Regions from separate parts of the Homo sapiens genome. Here region 1 is linked to region 2. The links are contacts of gene promoters, found by promoter capture Hi-C in human tissues and cell types (Jung and others, 2019). All regions are on one chromosome and are shown on one strand. Each heading gives the region's core, a stretch centred on a gene start or on the middle of the fragment in contact. The rest is flanking DNA. Distances are from core to core; before and after follow the strand shown. Region 1 overlaps CEP120 (centrosomal protein 120). Region 2 holds the start of PRDM6 (PR/SET domain 6).

Region 1 (2,745 bases), core at 119-2,618, 330 kb after region 2:
AAAGTAAAAAATTATCATGAATTTTCAGGACCTATTTTATTTCTCTTATACTGTAACATACATAAAATTACAAATACAAATACATGCTTATAGCTCTTTTGTAGCTAAAAAACAAACAGGAATTAAATATAAAATAAATTAAAATTTAAATTAATAATATAACACATAACAGTGTTCTGAAAGAATGATATTGGCTTGTTTAGCATGGGCTGTTTTAGTTCGGAACCCCTCAACTGGCTCATGCATTAAGCTGAATGGATTTTGCCACTGCTTTTATCTAGTGGAGTTATTATAGAACTGCACTTAGCACAAAATCATCACTTATAAATTCAATTTATCTGTATTTTCTCAGCCTACAACAATCAGAGTGGTACTAACCTGGCACTAACAAAATGGAAGCCCTAACAGCTCATAGCAGGACTCCATTATAGACACCACTGAAAGGAAATCCAACATTGATATTCTCTAAGAATGCAATACTTCTTCAAATAAATCCATGGACTACTCTAGCAACAGAGGTAAATAGAGTTTTCCTTGCTTTCCTTTTTTTTAACTTTCCATTTTGATTTAATTTAGTACTGAGAACAAGCAAGTATTAAAGTGATAACATGTTTTCCAGAAGAAAATATATTTTTAATCCTTAAATAAATAAGAGTATTGCTTTTATTGTTGTTGCCTGCTTCTAGTCAGAGTTCACAAAAAATATATACTATAACTTTAAGTCTATTTTATATACTAATAAAGTGGTTTTGTTTAAAATTAAATATAAATTAATTAGAAAGAAACCTTGATAGAATTACTTTCATAACTTTTCACTGGATACCCCTCTATATATCCTTGGCAAGCCAGGTAAATATACAATAAATAAATTAACAGAAATTACAAGGAATTCCAACCATATTTAATAATGAGTAGGTATCATCAAGGTATTTCTAGAATATCTACTGTCTCACACATTAGGAAAAAAAAAAAACCCAAACAGCTCAGTGTAAGTGTAGTGTAAAAGCTTAGGCTCTGAAGCTGGATTGCCTGGGCTCTACCACTACTAAGCTAACAGACTTAAAACAAGTTACTAATACTTAACATCTCAGGCCTCGGTTTCCTCATCTATAATATGGGCGAAATAAAAATAACAACTTCATAGTGTTGTTCTGATGTTTAACTGTTATTGTTGCAAAGTACTTTAAAAATTTCCTGTCACATTTAAAAAAACACTCAATAACTATAATTATTAAACGTAATGACAGATACAAAATTTATAGGTTGAACATTCCTAATTTGAAATGCTCCAAATTCTAAAACTTTGAGTGCTGACATAATGCCACAAACGGAAAATTCCACACACAAGCATTTAACATACTTCATTTTATGAAAATTTATTTAAAATATTATATAAAACTACCTTTGACTATGCGTATAATGTAAAACAAATAAATTTCATGTTTAGACTTGGGTCCCATCCCCAAGGTATCTTTGATTATGCAGATATTCCAAAAATCCGAAAATACTTCTGGTCCCAAGTATTAAATACTCAAACTGTATTTATTTATAACAGCCTGAAAAATAAGAAACCAATAAAGAAGCTAAAATGAAAATGATAATCACCTGTGCTGATGAAGCGCTTTCCTGTCAATTTCCCAAGCTAACTCAGTAGCAAATTCTGGCTGGTCAGTGTGGTCCACAGGATCAGTAGCCAACTGTTCTCCATCAAACTTTGCTTCCACTACAAGCATATGCTTTGGACGTTTGGGGAAATGCCGACCTGGAGAAACAGAATATATAGATTAATCAAAAGTGTACAAAAATCAAACAGGATCATTTACCATGTGTTTTTTTGTTTGGCTGGTTTTTTTTTTTTTTTGAGATGGAGTCTTACTCTGTTGCTTAGGCTGGAGTTCAGTAGCGCAATCTCAGCTCACTGCAACCTCCGCCTCCCAGGTTCACGCGATTCTCCTACCTGAGCCTCCCAAGTAGCTGGGATTACAGGTGCACACCACCAAACCCAGCTAATTTTTGTATTTTTAGTAGAGACAGGGTTTTGCCATGTTGGAACTCCTGACTTCAGGTGATCTACCTGCCTCGGCCTCCCAAAGTGCTGGGATTACAGGCATGAGCCACCATGCCCAGCCTAGCATGTGTTTTTTTAAAACTAATGATCTGTTAAGTGTGGTTGACATGCATTCCATAAGCTACCTCACTAATGCAGGCTCACATATACACTCACTTCCATAATTCATAAGAAACATGAATCAAATGGAAAGCTATAATTTATAAATGTGTGCTTCTCAAACATTAGTGTGCACATGAATCACCTAGGGACCCTGTTAAAATGTAGATTTTGACTCAGTAGATTTAGGGTGGGCCTAAGATTCCGCATTTCTAACAAGATCCAAGGTGATGTGAATGCTGCTGTCCTTGGTCCACACTTTGAGTAGGAATGATCTCAACAACATCTGGAATTAAACACTTAATGTGATTACACGAATTTTAGGTACTACTATTGCACTACTTAATAGAGAACAGTCATCTGAAGAGCTGGGAAATAAATTAGTAAAAACAAATTTGCCTGCAGCTTAATTTTTCTGTTAACTCAGTTAAGAATACTTTCCTGGTGAAACCCCGTCTCTACTAAAAATGCAAAAAATTAGCCGGGTGTGGTGGCATGCGCCTGTAGTCCCAGCTACTCGGGAGGCTGAGGCAGAACAGCTTGAACCCGGGAGGCAGAGGTGGCAGTGAGCACTGCAC
Region 2 (2,700 bases), core at 109-2,608:
GCATCCTGAATGAGACCCGGATGAAGTCTGAACAGCACGTTTCCCAGGTTCAGAAAACTTGAGTGGTGGGAAGAGAAAAAGAAACAAGCAGAAATCAGGAAAGAATGGCTATTAATTGCTCAGATTGGCAAGTGCTAAATAAGTTAGGTTGTTTGGAAAAAGATAAATGCCGTTTCTTCTCTTTACGGTATGGCCAGAACCCCGGCGATGGGAAAGTACCTCCTGAGTCGGTCAATTTCACACACCCTGCCTGTGCCCTCTACCATCTACTACCGAAAATGCCAGGAAGAGCTGGGGGGCAAGTGCCTCCTTCGTGGGTGCGAGACTGCATCGAAGGGCTGCCCTGGCACAAAGTCTGGGGAGAGGACATGGTGGAGGTGGGGCTGCACTCCCACCCTGCCCCTCTAACACCAGGTTTTGGGTAGAGAAACCTATGCGTGACCTCCTGCGGCAGCCGCAGGCAGCTGACCGCAAACAGCCTCGCCCGTGTCCCGGAGCAGTTGTGCCACCAGACGTAACACTGGATACTTGTCTCCGGGCCCCAAGAAGGAGAGGGAAAGAGCCCTCCAGAAGACAACCCGAGAAGGGGTCAGCAGAGCGCTGGGTGGAGTGCAGACTCCATTGCAGCCGCCTCCCAGCCCCACGGCCAAGCTTGAGTCCCTCCAGGACCAGCTGCTCTCGGTCTCAGGACCCTCGGTCCTACGCCTCCCTGCACCGACAAGCCTCCCTCCTGGGCTGCAGACAGAGGGTTTCACTGCAGCGCGCAACCCGTCCCGCTCCGCCCCCAACTTTTCTCCCCGGAGGATTTATGTTAGAGGTTGCGTGGCGGGCGAGTGGACTCTGGCACCCAGAAGCACTTCAGGAAAAACTGAGCCGGGCAAAAGCGCAAACCCGGTCCTGGCGGCGCGGGCTTGCTCCAGCGCGGACACCACAGCGTGTGCGGAGATGCATTCCCGTTGCCGCATTTCCACTGCTTTCAAGATCAGGGCACTGAGCTGGGACCCAGAAAAGACATATCATGGGCAGAAAGAGACAACAGGCTAGCGGCAGACGTCACGCCAAAAAAACAGGGGATGGGAGGGCGGAGGAGTTTGTGCGGGAAAGGCGCTCTGGCGATGTGGGTCGGGCCGAATTAGAACTTCCTTCTTCCCTCTCCCCTCCCCTTCTTCTGGCCTGCCTCCCCTCCCCCCTCCGTTCTCTCTCTCTCTCTCTCTCTCTCTCTCTCTCTCTCTCTCTCTCTCTCTCACACACACACACACACACACACACACACACACACACACACACACACACACACACACACACACACTCACTCTATTTTGTGCTGTCGTAAAACCCACGTGTCCAGCCGGGAAGCTGCCAGAGCGTGGAACCAAGGAGCCAGGACGCGGCAGCGGCCAAGCGCAGCAGCCCACGGCGGTTGAGTCGGGCGCCCAGGTCCGTCCGCACTCTCGCGCCCTCCGCGGGCCTCCCAATTTTCTCGCTTGCAGGTCGGGAGGTTTCCGGGCGGCACAATCTCTAGGACTCTCCTCCCGCGCTGCTCAGGGGCATGTAGCGCACGCAGGGCGCACACTCTCGCGCACCCGCACGCTCACCGAGACACCCGCACGCACCCACCGGCAGCACCGAGTTTTCAGGTAAGGTGAGGCTGGTCTGGGACTTAAGAGTCTAGGGCTTGGTAGATAGGAAGGTTGGTGGTCCTAGGTTGGGGGCGGGCGGCGAGACTGTTCTGCCTCCTGGCGCCTGAGGCCAACGCGGCTCGGGCGCTGCGCCACGCCGGCTCGGGTCGGCTCCGGGCGCTGGCTGAGGGCGGGGGCTGCGTCCTGCAGCCGAGTTCTACGGGGCAGCGCCCTCCTGTCGGGCCCCAGCATTGCTGGATGGGAGCTGGACGCTGCGATCGGGGAGGCAGAGCAGGGTGCACACAGCTCCCTCTGTGCGGCGCCGCAGCTTCGGAGTAAACTTTGCGCCCAAGCGGAGTTGGGAAGAGGGAGCCGCGGAACCGGGCGGCCGCCGGCTGAACCACCGGCTCGGGCACTTTCTCCAGGGTCCCAGTGGCCCTCTTCCCGGCCCCTTTCGCCCAGCTCACGCGCCCCCTCTTCCCTGCCCTCTGCCCCCAGTTCGAGGCGCCGGACATGCTGAAGCCCGGAGACCCCGGCGGTTCGGCCTTCCTCAAAGTGGACCCAGCCTACCTGCAGCACTGGCAGCAACTCTTCCCTCACGGAGGCGCAGGCCCGCTCAAGGGCAGCGGCGCCGCGGGTCTCCTGAGCGCGCCGCAGCCTCTTCAGCCGCCGCCGCCGCCCCCGCCCCCGGAGCGCGCTGAGCCTCCGCCGGACAGCCTGCGCCCGCGGCCCGCCTCTCTCTCCTCCGCCTCGTCCACGCCGGCTTCCTCTTCCACCTCCGCCTCCTCCGCCTCCTCCTGCGCTGCTGCGGCCGCTGCCGCCGCGCTGGCTGGTCTCTCGGCCCTGCCGGTGTCGCAGCTGCCGGTGTTCGCGCCTCTAGCCGCCGCTGCCGTCGCCGCCGAGCCGCTGCCCCCCAAGGAACTGTGCCTCGGCGCCACCTCCGGCCCCGGGCCCGTCAAGTGCGGTGGTGGTGGCGGCGGCGGCGGGGAGGGTCGCGGCGCCCCGCGCTTCCGCTGCAGCGCAGAGGAGCTGGACTATTACCTGTATGGCCAGCAGCGCATGGAGATCATCCCGCTCAACC

What was found. The method cuts DNA at HindIII sites, captures the fragments that hold promoters and counts their contacts. A contact is called where the count stands out against the background at its distance.
Region 1: a fragment that was not itself captured here is called in contact with the fragment with the promoter of PRDM6 in region 2 in 1 of the 25 tissues and cell types used here (H1 embryonic stem cells).

The regions. Positions count from the first base shown.
Region 1 is chr5:123,416,754-123,419,498 of GRCh38, forward strand. CEP120 (centrosomal protein 120) reads right to left here. Exons shown (of 20, transcript NM_001375405.1): 2 at 1,606-1,762. Among named protein-coding and RNA genes, the nearest start is that of CEP120, 5.3 kb to the right of the region's middle. The HindIII fragment of the contact is 7,053 bases long and covers 1-2,745 here.
Region 2 is chr5:123,087,883-123,090,582 of GRCh38, forward strand. It overlaps PRDM6 (PR/SET domain 6), which reads left to right and starts at 1,359. Exons shown (of 8, transcript NM_001136239.4): 1 at 1,359-1,637; 2 at 2,118-2,700. The coding sequence starts at 2,133. It overlaps PRDM6-AS1 (PRDM6 antisense RNA 1), which reads right to left and starts at 2,434. Exons shown (of 2, transcript NR_146771.1): 1 at 2,190-2,434; 2 at 1-57. RefSeq lists enhancers at 9-553, 554-1,098. The HindIII fragment of the contact is 7,641 bases long and covers 1-2,700 here.